2 separate regions of the Homo sapiens genome follow, and region 2 is linked to region 1. The links are contacts of gene promoters, found by promoter capture Hi-C in human tissues and cell types (Jung and others, 2019). All regions are on one chromosome and are shown on one strand. Each heading gives the region's core, a stretch centred on a gene start or on the middle of the fragment in contact. The rest is flanking DNA. Distances are from core to core; before and after follow the strand shown. Region 1 holds the start of SLC7A2 (solute carrier family 7 member 2). Region 2 has its middle 24 kb from the start of MTMR7.

Evidence for each region. Contacts are between HindIII fragments. The study calls those that stand out against the background at their distance.
Region 2: a fragment that was not itself captured here is called in contact with the fragment with the promoter of SLC7A2 in region 1 in 2 of the 25 tissues and cell types used here (mesenchymal stem cells and thymus).

The regions. Positions count from the first base shown.
Region 1 is chr8:17,491,565-17,498,348 of GRCh38, reverse strand. It overlaps SLC7A2 (solute carrier family 7 member 2), which reads right to left and starts at 1,261. Exons shown (of 13, transcript NM_001370338.1): 1 at 1,112-1,261. The HindIII fragment of the contact is 11,749 bases long and covers 1-6,784 here.
Region 2 is chr8:17,434,085-17,440,843 of GRCh38, reverse strand. No RefSeq gene overlaps it. Among named protein-coding and RNA genes, the nearest start is that of MTMR7, 24 kb to the right of the region's middle. The HindIII fragment of the contact is 3,444 bases long and covers 3,524-6,759 here.

The sequences.
Region 1 (6,784 bases), core at 12-2,511:
CTAGCTCAGGCAAGAATGAAAAAGTATCAAGTCAAGGCCACATACATTCTAATTTTATAACCCAGGCGGCCCTGGATGGGATTCAGAGAGCTCTTATTTGAATAAGATCTGACGATATCCTCTCATTAAAAGGATTAGTGTTTCTGCACAAACGTCTAGATAAATCTTATTACTGGTCCAAAATTAGTCACCTAAAGGCTTTAGCCAGTTTTGCACAAATATTTACAACTCTGAAGAGGCTGAGTACTTTTTCTCTTGAAATCCAGGCACTATATCCACTTCAAAAGCCACATATGATTGTGGCTTTTGCTGAGCATATTTCTTTTCGACGAGTTGAAGATGACAATCTCTCAATACCTTACTCCATAGACTGGATGTAAGCGTCAAAAGAGGATGAAAAGGTACTTTCTGAACGGACAGGTACTCTGGGGTGATGGGTTGGGAGATTCTCTAAGCCTCAAGAACAGCGTTTCATGAAACGGGCTTATAAAATACAGCCCATCTCAAACGGATTTTAAAAGGCACCCAGTTACTTTAAAATACCCAATACAAACACCAAGACGGGCTATTTTACCAGGTCCCCTGCAGAATGTGAAGGGGCTTCCAGCGCTCCAAGCCGGCTTTCTAATTTAAGCCAAGAACCGAAAAGGAGCGAAGGCGGCTTCGGGGACCCCGGCAGCGTGCAGGGCCAGGAGGTTCAGCCTGCCCACCCGGAGAGGGGTGCGCCGAGCTCCTCTGGAAATAGTGACTGAAGGGTCCCCGCGAAGTCGCCGTGCCAGCCCCTCTCCCAGTTCCAGCGGTCCCCGAAGTCCCCGGGCAGAGCCGGCTGCACAGGGACCGGACGAGGCGAGGCGCATTCCGGGGCGCAGCCCCGAGGACGAAGGTCCACGGCTTCAGCCCCAGCCCACGGCCCCGACTCCCTGACGAAGACTCGCTGGAGCGCGGCCTCAGGGCAGCTGCGCGCAGCTGGACTCGTCCCCGGGAGCCCTCGACCCTCTAGTTCCCCGCCGGCCCCAGGGCGCCCTCGCCCCGCTCCTTCCCCGCCGGCCCCAGCGTCCGGGCTGCCCCTCGCCCGCGGCCTCTCGGCGGGGCTGGAGACCTAGCAACTTACTGGGGCTGGGTTGGGGTCGCGCCAAGAAGGCGGCGGTGGGCTGCCGGCTGCAGCGCGTCGGGGGCCCGCGGCTGGGGGACGCTGGAGCAGCGGCCGCCGCCTCGCTGGTCCCGCGAAGAGGAGCGCCCGCCGGCCGCGCTGCAGAAGGAGGGCTGGGCACGTGGGCGCCCCTCTGTGTAGCCACCCGGGGCGGGGGCGGGGCGCGGGGCCGGGCGGCACCGCCTCCTCCGCGCTCCCGGAACGCGACCCCGAGCCCGCCTCCCGCCGGGCCCCGGCCGCGCTGACCAATCCCCGGGGTGGGCGGTGTGCGGCCGCTGCTCAGCGGGGTTTGCCTGGAGCCGAGCACACGTGGGCGGGCGCTAGCCCCGGGCTAGGCCGGTGGGCGCGGGCCGGGGAAGAGAGGCTGCGCGCGAGGATAAACTTCGTGCTCTCCTGGGAGGACCAAACCTCAAGGGCATTTCCGAATCTTCTAAGCAGAGTTCTAAGTGGGGTTTTGGTCCCCCCGTTTACTTTCCATTCTACAAAGATTTTGGAAATAAGAAAATAATAATAAAATATAATAATAGCAATGATAAATGGAAGCCCAGGTGGATGTGCTTTGTCAAATGCAAACTAAACGTTGATAAATAATGTGCAGTTGCTATTTTGGAAGACTCCAGTGGTATGAATACGTAGTCACGATTGTTTGGGGGTGGGTTTATAGGAAATGACATTATTTCCAGGGGAGCAAGAGCAGAAGTTACACAATCAGGGTTTCTCCTACTGCGCTATTGTTTACTTTAGGAGTCTCTGATAAGATTAAGTCACAATGTGAAAGCCTGTTAATTTTCATCCAAAACGAAGCAAAACACGCACTGAATTGAACAATAAGTGTGTGTCAGTGTGTGTGTGTATATGTGTGTGTGGTTTGTCTTTAGAGACAGGGTCTCACTCTGTCGCCCAGGCTGGAGGGCAGTGACACAATCGTGGCTCACTGCAGCCTCGACCTCCTGGGCTCAAGCTATCCTCCCGCCTCAGCCTCCCAAAGTGCTGACAACTACAGGCTTGAGCCACCAGGCTGAGAATTACAGGCTTGAGCCACCATGCCCGGCCTATTACTATTTTTGTTTGACAGAAAGGTCCACTTTACTTTGCATAGTATTGGAGTAAACGTCCCTTTAACCCACCTACTAGTAATAACTTTGGCAAAGTGCCAGATTTGTATTGCTGCCTCACAGTACATATACAATTTTAATGTGATATTCTAAATCATTCTTCCCTTCAAGACATATATCCCCAAGATCATCTAATAAACGGTGTGGGGCTTCATTCCAGAAGATAGCACACACACAAAATCTCAATGTATCTCAGGAAGCCATCCATGGATTTCATCAAAAAGTGAAAGTGTAGGCTGGGGGTGGTGGCTCACGCCTGTAATCCCAGCACTTTGGGACGCCGAGGCGCGCCGATCACCTGAGGTCAGGAGTTCGAGACCAGTCTGGCCAACAGGGTGAAACTCCGTCTCTACTAAAAATACAAAAATTAGCCGGGCGCGGCGGCGGGCGCCTGTAACCCCAGCTACTCGGGAGGTTGAGGCAGGAGAATCGCTTGAGCCCAGGAGGCGGAGGTTGCAGTGAGCCGAGATAGTGCCACTACAGTCCAGCCTGGGCGACAGAGTGAGATTCCGTCTCAAAAACAAAAGCAAACGAACAAAAAAACTGAAAGTTTAAACAGCACTATGATTACGAAGATATTATCTGATAGACCAAATGTCTTAAGTAATAGAGACTGTCAAAGTAAACTTATTTTTACAGTCAAAAAAAGATTCCTTATGCAAATTATCATTAATAACATTAAGGGAAATGATGCGTGTGGACTTTTAACACCAGATTCCTCCTCAATCCCACGGCTAGGAGGCGTTGTTCAAGGGAGCGATGACTCAGATACTTTGTCTAATTTTTAAGGGTGAGTAATCTGGTCTAACATTTTTCACCTGGTTTAAAAAAAATAGAGATTCCTGGGAGTCGCGGTGGCTCAGGGCGGTTGCCCTGGCACTCGAGGAGGCGAGGCTACACGTTCGAGGCCAACCTGGTCAACATTGATTAAAATAAAGAAAGAAAAAATAAAAAAATAGAGATTCCTATTTTTAAACTTAAGCAATTATTTCCCCACATATTTTTACTTAAAGGCTCTGTGTTTAAATCTGTTTAATTTGTGATTAAGTTACAACACAATGATTTGGGATAAACAAATTTATCTGGAATTTGGAAACTGCCAATTTTGTCAGAATACCGATCTTTGAATTTATCCAATCTGCCCGCCGGCGCACTTCCTGAAGCAAGAACGTGCTGTGTTCATGTGTGTGAATAAGAACAACAACTTCATCTCTAAGCAAAAAAAGAGCAAATTCTTTCAAACAACTTTCTAACAAGATTGCTGAATATCTTTACACACTAGTTCTTGACTTAACATATTCCATTTCGTGTTTGAAATTATTGATTAACCCTGAATCCTGCCTCATAACTTTGGTTATTTCTCACCTTTAAAAATGTGTTTAGATGAGGAAAGAATAGGATGCCCACGGATTTAGTATGAGTCTCTTAAGACAGACTATGAGACAAGAGAAAATAGAATCGAATTTTTAGAAATGAAATATTTGAAACAGGTTAAGCTCTTTTGACTTCATCTTCATTTGCATTTTCTCTTGCTGCCCGGGGTTGAATTAGCATCTTTTTCCCAGTTGAGTAAAATTTGCACCCACCTTCTATTTCACGCTCCCTGGTTTATTGCCATCACTTTTCACTTTCAGCCGTCAAGTTTCCTCCTTAGGAATGAAGCAGAAAATCCAACTTAGTCATTTTCAGCAGAGAGAGTAGCCTAGGTTGTCATCTTCCAAAGATTTCACAAACATTCTTGCATGTCTGAACTCTTAAGGGTTTATGAAATTGCGGGGAATTTTAAGGGACTTTTGTAGCTGAATAAATTCCACACCCTGTACTCCCACACTTGCCAAATACAACCTAAAGTAAATCTCATGTCCACAAATAAGGGATTTACTTCAACTAGCAAGACTGAAGGAATGGATTCTTACTAGTTCTAATTTGTGACTCTATTATTCCCCAAACTATTTTAGCGAAGACAAGCTAAAATCCTCCAATTTTTTTCAGATGGTTGGATACTGGATACTAATGCTTGTGCTGTCACTGAATCAACTCAAAAGGGAAAAAGAGTTGGACCAGAGTCAGAGCACTAGCTATTTGTTTGTTTTTTGAGACGGAGTTTCCCTCTGTCACCAGGCTGGAGTGCAAGGGCACGATCTCAGATCACAGCAACCTCTGCCTCCCGGATTCAAGCGATTCTCCTGCCTCAGCCTCCGGAGTAGCTGAGATTACAGGCGCTCACCACCACGCCTGGCTAATTTTTTTGTATTTTCAGTAGAGACGGGGTTTTACCACGTTGCCCAGGCTGGTCTCAAACTCCTGACGTCAGGTGATCCCGCCCACCTCGACCTCCCAAAGTGCTGGGATTAAAGGCGTGAGCCACCGCCCCGACCCAGAGCACTAGTTTTAAGAGCTTTCAGGCCACCGCTGTTCTCCACTCGCCTTTCAAAAATGTGTAAAAACCTAGAGGTGACTTTCCACTGGACAGAGTCCATATCTGCCCATCCCTTAAGGCAAGCAACAAAATATTGAAAAAATGGTTGGAAAAAAAATACAACAAGTCCATATAAATGACAAGTCGTCTTTCAAATTCATCTTCTTCTACTTGTCTTTCAACTAAGACCAAATCACCGTTTTGCAATGATTTTCATTCTACATTGCTCTTCCTACAAATTTCCCTGCCTCCTGTCACTTGGTGTCTTTCTGGGGTTTCTTTACATTGGCCATTCATCAGGAATGGCCCTGAGCTCCACCCGCCCCGTGCTAGTCTCTAATTCCTTCTGCCAGGATTCCTGCTGGGCCTCTTATCTGCTGGAAAAAGTCAGTTTTCTTAATCTAAACATCAGTTAGCCTGTTGCTCTAAGGACTGAAAACCAGGGATTTAGGAGGGAGCTCAGATAATCTAAATCCTCTCTTTTCTTTAACCTTGATGAGGGTCCTAATTGCTCCAGAAATCTCTTCCTAATCATATGCAATGGACCTTTCGCAGTTCTCTTGTGCCTCAAACTCGCTCCTGCTTTCTTTCTTTCTCGAAACTATCTCCTCCTTGGCTTCCACGGTCTCTTAGTTTTCCTCCTACTATCCTGAATAACCTTTTGTCTTGCTTGCTAACTAAGGCACTCTTAAGATTAAATTATTGAATCATTCTTAACTCCATCAATCTTCACAATCTAGGTTGTTATGCTTTTTTTTTTTTTTTTTTTTTTGAGACGGAGTCTCATTCTGTCACCCAGGCTGGAGTGCAGTGGTGCACTCTCAACTCACTGCAATCTCTGCCTCCTGGGTTCAAGCGATTCTCCTGTCTCAGCCTCCCGAATAGCTGGTATTACAGGCACGGGCCACCACGTCCGGCTAATTTTTTGTATTTTTAGTACAGACAGGGTTTCACCGTGTTAGCCAGGATGGTCTCGATCTCCTGACCTCGTGATCTGCCCGCCTCGGCCTCCCAAAGTGCTGGGATTACAGGCGTGAGCCTCCATACCCGGCTGAGAGAGTAATTTTTACCTCCTTTTCTACAAAAGAAAAAAATTAGAAACCACTCATCATGCTGGGGCAGAGAACGACAGAGAACGTGCCACTGCACTCCAGCCTGGGCGAAAGAGAGAGACTCCGCCTCTAAAAAAAAAAAAAGGAGGGGGTAAGGGGGTAATCCCCTTTTATCCGCGGGGGGGTATATGTTCCAAGACCCTCAGTGGATGCCTGAAATCACGGATAGTACCAAACCCTATATGTACAATTTTTTTTCTATGCATACGTACTGTGATAAAGTTTAATTTATAAACTAGACACAGTAAGAGATAACAACAATAACTAATGATAAAATAGAATAATTATAACAATATACTCTAATGAAAGTTACACGAATATGGTGACTCTCTCAAAATACCTGATATTAACAAAAATAACTATGATTTACTGTGGATAACTGAAAACACAGAAAGCTAAACCGTGGGTAAGGGAGGGGAGGTACTGTTGTACTCATGTGAAAATGTTACTGTTTAGCGCCCTCCAGGGCTTCTCTGAAGCCACATCAGAACATTAAATTCATTGAGCTCAAACAATGACAAGTAAAATTACCCTCTGGTAGTGGGGGAAAAGGAGGAAGGACTACTGGTTTCTTGCTTTTAAAGGAAAAACTTTAGCCAAAATAAATTTAAAGGAGCTTAATTGAACGAGGAACAATTCAAGAATCAGGCAGCCCCCAGAATCACAGCAGATTTAGAGAGATTCCAGCAGAGCCATGTGGTGGAAGAAGGTTTATAGACAAAAAAAAAAAAAAAAAACCCAAAAAACAGGAAATGATGTACAGAAATCGGAAGTGAGGGACAGAAACAGCTGGATTGGTTACAGGTTGGCGTTTGCCTTATTTGAACACCTTTTGAACACCGTTAGAACAGTTGGCTACATTTGATTGGCCAAAACTCAGTGACTGGCACATGTGTGGGCTACAGGCAGTTTACACCTCTACTTATTATAGTTCACAATGTACAGAAAAACCTTTAGGCTGAACTTAAATATGTAAGGAGACAGCTTT
Region 2 (6,759 bases), core at 3,996-6,495, 61 kb after region 1:
ATTTTATTTTTTGTGGATACAGGGTCTCACTTTGTTGCCCAGGCTGGTCTCAAACTCTTGGCTTCAAGCAATCGACCCACCTCAGCCTTTCTCTGGGATTACAGGTGTGAACTACCATGCCAGACCCTGTTATATTTCTTTCTAGAGTTTTATCAGACATCAGATTCTTGAAAGCATCTCACATAAGACAATTTAATTAGGCAGACAAAAACAAAGAAAGACGCACACTTAGTTACCTTCATTTCCTGAATATTTGAATGAGTCCATTCTTATGAGGTTAGCTGGATGCCCTTCAGTGGTTACTGTTAACTGTCCATCCCAACGTGGCGTTGGAGTCCTTCGTGGCTAGACCCCAGAGTGTCTCTGTCTAGCAAGCAGTGAGTATTGTTAGTTTCCTTTCTTAACTCATAGTGTGTCCCTTGGTGACTTCATTTGCGAGGGCATTGCTCACTGTAGGCAGAGCCCCAGTGTGCTCCCTAACGTGGAGCCAAAGACATTTGCTCCTGGTCACAGCTGCTGTCACCACAGATACACAGTGGCCCTTTGCATGCCAACATTGCCAGTTCAACCATCACATTGAATCTGTTATTGAAATTGGCAGAAACACAAAAATCAATCCCACAACACACACTTGGATCACCTTGAACCCTTTTGCTCTTGTCAGCTTCTCAAGCAGACAGAGGACACCAGGGGTCTCTGAGTTGTGATCTTTGCATGCTCTAGCACAGGGCTTTGTGGTTGTCTTTTCACAAATTAGAAGAGCCAAGCAAACATGCCCTTGGTAAGACAGTGCCCCTCGCTCTGTGCAAGTGGGTGGGTGAGGACAGTCAACTCCAAGAAGACTTGTAACGAATACTGCCAAGGCACTATTTCCGCTCCAATATTCCAAGCTACCAGCACCATGTTCTCCTATCTGGGTTTTCCTTGAGATCCCATCCTCTCTGGAATGTGTAAATCTCCTGAGCCCCTAAAGACAAAGCCTTTGAACATTTCACCCATGGAACGCTACATAGCACCAGGTTTCACTGAATGATATCAGACCCTTGTTGACACAGATTTGCCATCTAAAGACTTTACTGTACAGTTTTACTTCTTCAGTCAGACCATTAAAATGTGTAAACAATCCTCATGCCTGTAATCCTAGCACTTTGGGAGGCCAAGGCGGGGGGATTGCCTGAGCTCAAGAGTTAGAGACCAGCCTGGGCAACATGGTGAAACCCGGTGTCTACTAAAATACAAAAGAAATTAGCTGAGCGTGGTGGCGTACGCCTGTAGTCCCAGCTACTCTGGAGGCTGAGGCACGAGAATTGCTTTAACCCAGGAGGTGGAACTTGCAGTGAGCCGAGATCACACCACTGCACTCCAGCCTGGGCGAGAGAGTGAGACTCCATCTCTACAAAATAATAATAATAATAAATAAATAAATAAATAAATAAATAAATAGTGTGTAAATGTTCTTTTAAAATTGCTGCTTAAAGAACTTCCAAAAGTAACTCAGTTTTGGATTTTAAAATACAGGATATAGAAATAGGCTGGGTGTGGTGGCTCACGCCTGTAATTGTAGCACTTTGGGAGAACTAGGCAGGTGGATCACCTGAGGTCAGGAGTTCAAGACCAGCCTGACCAACATGGTGAAACCCTGTCTCTACTAAAAATACAAAAAAAAAAAAAAAAAAAAATTAACTGGGCGTCGCGGCGGGCGCCTGTAATCCTAGCTACTCAGGAGGCTGAGGCACGAGAAACGCTTGAACCCAGGAGGCGGAAAGTGCAGTAAGCTGAGATGACGCAACTTCACTCCAGCCTACGCAAGAGAGTGAGACTCCATCTCAATAAATAAATAAATAAATAAAAATTAAAAAAAAAAGAAATAATCCAGATCTTTCTCAAGTGAATAAATTAAAATAACAAAAAGGTTTTTGCATAACAGCTTTACTGAAGTATAATTGACATACACTAACGCCGTGTTCAAAGTGTGAATTTGATAGGTTTTGACATACAGGAAATCTTTGCCACAGTCAAGATAATGAATCACCAGGCTGGAGTGCAATGGTACAATCACGGCTCGCTGCAGCCTCAAACTTCTGGGTTCAAGGGATCCTCCCACCTCAGCCTCCCATGTAGGTGGGATTACAGGCATGTGCCACCATGCCTGGCCATTTTTTTTTTTTTTTTCATTTTTAGTAGAGATGGGGTCTTGCTGTGTTCCTCAGGCTGGTCTTGAGCTCCTGGGCTATAGCGATCCTCCCACCTCAGCCTGTCAAAGTGCTGGGATAACAGGCATGAGACACTGCAAGCTAGCTTATACGAATTTTGGTGAAGTTTCTGTTCAGGTATTTTGCCCATCTTTAAAACTGGGGTTTGTTTTCCTATTATTGAGTTTTGAGAGTACTTTATATACAAGTTCTGGACATGAGTCTTTTAACAGATGTGTGATTTGTAAATATTTTCTTCCAGTCAGTGGCTTGTCTTTTTAATCTGTTAAGATGTTTTTGAAAGAGTAGAATTTCTTGACTTTGATGAAGCCCAATATATGATGTTTTAGTGCATTGTGCTTTTGGTGTTACAGACAAGAAAATTTCACTTAGTCCAAGGTCACATAGATTTTCTCCTATGTTTACTTCTGGAAGCTTTATAGTTTTAGGTTTCACATTTACATCTATAATCTGAGTTAATTTTTGATTGGTGTGAAGTACAGATCATGGTTGTTTGGTTTTTTTGCATTCAAAAATTAACTTTTCTAACACTGTAGTTGAAATGACTCTCCTGTTACCACTGAATTGTTCTTGTACTTTTGTTGAAAACCAATTGACCATACATGCGCAGGTCTGTTTCTAGCCTCCGTTTTATTTAGTTACTCTCATATAACTGGTCTGAAGTCAAAACTACGTTGTCTAGGTTACTGCAACTTTGTAAGTCTTGCAGTTTGGTAGTATATTGTGCAGTATATTAAAGTGAAATTTGATCATGAATATTTCCTGTCTGTCTCTCTTTGGACAGTATATTGGTTAGTATAAAGTGGTTCTTATTTTTCAAAATTATTTTGGGTATTCTAGGTTCTTTGCATTTCCATATTGTCAAATCAGTTTGTCAGTTCTACAAAAACAGCCTGCTAGAATTTTGACTAGGATTGCACTGTATGTCCTATATGTGGAGTACATCATAATAATATTGAATCCTTCAATCCATGAAGATAATACAACTCCATTTATTTTGGGTTTCTTTAATTTATCTCAGCAATGTTTATAGTTTGCTGTGTACAAGGGTTATACTTTTTTGTTAGATTTATCCTTATTTCATATTTTTAATGTTATTAATGGCATTTAAAAAATTTCCAATTTCCAGTTGTTATTTGCTAACATATAGAAACATAACTTATTTTTTTGTGTTGATCTTGTATCCTACATCCTTGCTAAGCTTACTTATTAGTTCTAATAGCTTTTGTAGAGTCCATCAGATTTTCTGTGTATGGAGCCATGTCTTTTGGAAGTAAAGATAGATTTACTCCTTCCTTTTCAGTTTGGATGTCTTCAAATTCTTATACTTGCTACGGCATTGGCTAGACCATCCAGTACAATGTCAAATAGTAGTAGTGGCATTGGACGTCCTTGACTTGTTTCTGATATTGGGAAAGCTTTCAGTCTTTCATCATTGTGTATGTTAACTGTAGTTTTCTTGTGGATTACTTTATCAGATAGAGGAAGTTCCCTTCTATTCATAATTAGCTGAGAGTTAGTTTATTTATTTATTTATTTTTATTTTTAAATCAGGAATGAATGCCGAATGTTGTCAAACAATTTTTCTATATCTATTGAGATGACAATATGGAGGTTTCATTAGTTGGACAATATGATGAATTAAATCGATTTGTTATTTTTAAACCAACCTGCATTTCTGGGATAAACAAAATGTTTTCAAAAACAGAGAAATTCATCAGGTTGGATTTAAGTTAAAGGAATGTGACTGCTTGGTTATTATTGCAGCACAATTTATCAAATCATGGAAGATAAGTTATTTTTCTAGTTATGACTGTTTTCAATAAATCTCAAAAAATTTCTTAACTTTTCAGTGAAACTATATTAAAGTATGTGAAATTTGTAGTGATCATTAGTTTATCAAGGTAAAATGCAATATATTCTTCTCTTCAGTCTATTTAGAAATTAGAAAATATCTGAAGTGTCTACTTTTCATGAGATCTTAGGCATTTCCAAACACATAATTTTTTAGTCTAGGGCAAAGTATTTTGTGTGGTTCTACCTGTCTACACAATCCTCTCTTTTCCCTCCATTTTATGAGACTATTAGTTGAGAACTAGTCTAAACTCCCTTTTTGAGGCATTTTCTCAAAGGAGGTTGCAGTATTACTGCCTTGGGTGATCCTGGTAGCCCATGGAGGGAGGTGAACATAAATGCTTAAACACTAATACCACCCGTTAGCTACTGCTCCTGAGAGAGACGGACAGGAAATATTCATGATCAAATTTCACTTTAAACTCAGGGCGGGAAGTGACTATCCTCATCAAAAGGTAATTAAAAGATTCCCTCGGGCCTCAGAAGACACGGAGGCTGTTTGTACTATTGAGAAAGTTGCCAAAGTGAGAAGGCAGATAATGAGCACTTCAGATGTGGGGACAGAGCCAAGCAGACATCAGCTCTTTCATTAACCAGTCAATCAGGTGAAGCAGATTGGAAGGAATTCAAGCCTTCAGAAGAAGTAAGATGATCAAGACTTAACCCTCAAGGTTGTTAAGCAAGTACATAAGCAAAGTCCAGGAATTTTTGCCATACGGTGGCTAGTGGTGCAGGATTTGGGGACAGGGAGACCAGGGTTGAGTGGGGACTGCACAATTTCTTACCTATCTCTTCTTTCATTTTCTTTCTGGGCCACCCCAGTTTTCTTATTTGTGGTGTTGTGAGATGAAGTAAGTAAAGCAACTAGCGCATTACTGGTACTTCATTGTAATAGAAGAAAGATGCCATTCATAACCCTGACTGGCTTCTAGAAAGGATTCTTTTCAGTGGAAGGCTCTTCATGCTGCTGGAGCCTTAACAGGTTTGTGTGAGAGCACGAGCTGGGAAGCGTTGACTTGCTCTGCACATTAAAGAAGCAGAACCCCGTCTCTAGTAAAAATACCAAAAATTAGCCGGGCGTGGTGGCAGGCGCCTGTAGTCCCAGCTACTTGGGAGGCTGAGGCAGGAGAATGGCGTGAACCCAGGAGGCGGAGCTTGCAGTGAGCTGAGATGGTGCCACTGCACTCCAGCCTGGGCAACAGAGCGCGACTCCGTGTCAAAAAATAATAATAATAATAAATAAATAAATAATAAGAAGCAGAATGTGGAGTTCCCAAGGCAGTCTTGGTGGGAAAGGAGCAGAGAAGTGAGTATCAGTAGAAAAAGCCAGTGAGGCTGGGCATGGTGGCTCACGCCTGTAATCCCAGCACTTTGGGAGGCTGAGGCAGGTGGATCACGAGGTCAGGAGTTTGAGACCAGCCTGGGCAACAAAGTGAAACCCCGTCTCTACTAAAATACAAAAAAATTAGCTGGTTGTGGTGGTGTGCACCTGTAATTCCAGCTACTCAGGAGGCTGAGGCAGGAGAATTGGGTGAACCTGGGAGGCAGAGGTTGCAGTGAGCCAACATCGCACCATTGCACTCCAGCCCAGACGACAGTGTGAGACTCCATCTCAAAAAAAAAAGAGAGAAAGGAAAGCCAGTGAGAGGGAAGGCCCAGTGAGGGCCAGTGAGAAACCCCCAAGGGTGAGTGCAAGAACACCTCCAACAGCTGAATGCCAGATGTTGGGGGTGAAAATGTCATAGATTTCCCCCTATGTTGCAGAGGTATGCAAAATGGAAACTCTTCGTTTCTCTGCAATTGAACTAGATTTCGAGTGACCCTTTCCGCTTGGTAGTGACAAAAGTAATCTGAGTAAAGGTCAGCTCAGACACTTAGGATTTAAAAGTCAGCGAATAATTGCTGTCTTCACAATCAAGTCCACTTCTTCCTCAGCTCTTTTCTCCCTCCTGCCCAGGAGGTGATGTAAGTACCAGAAGGAAAGGATTTTAACTGTCATCCATGTCAGGGAAGAGAATGGTTTATCCCCAGTCGTCTTTTATCTTTCTCTGGCTGCTACTGAGCTGAAACTTGTCCCCCCAGGCCTCTGGGTGCATGACCCACTGCTTATGCCAAAATGACCACTGTTCTCCCAAGGACTCTGATTACCTGTTCCATGCAAACCACCTGTGTCCTCCTCGCTGGGGCATAGAAATCAGACTCCTTCACATCTCTATTAGTCTGTTTTACATTGCTATAAAGGAATTCCTGAGGCTGGGTAATTTATAAAGAAAAGATGTTTATTTGGCTCATGGTTCTGCAAGCTGTACAGAAAGCATGGCACTGGCATTTGCTCAGCTTCTGGTGAGGCCTCAGGAAGCTTTTACTCAGGGCGCAAGGTGAAGGGGGAGCTGGCGTGTCATATAGCGAGAGAGGGAGCAATAGAGAGAGCAGGAGGTGACAGGCTCCTTTAAACAACCAGCTGTTGCGTGAGCTAAGAGAGCAAGAACTCATTCATGACCAGGGGGAGGCCATTCTTGAGGGATCCACCCTCATGGCCCACCTCTAACACTGGAAATCTCATTTCAACATGAGACTTGGAGGGAACACACATCCAAACCCTATCAATGTCCACTAGTCTAGGTGTCATCCCCATCCTCCTCTCAGGGTCCACAAGCAACATTCTGCCACTGTCCCCTTATCACCCTGGAGG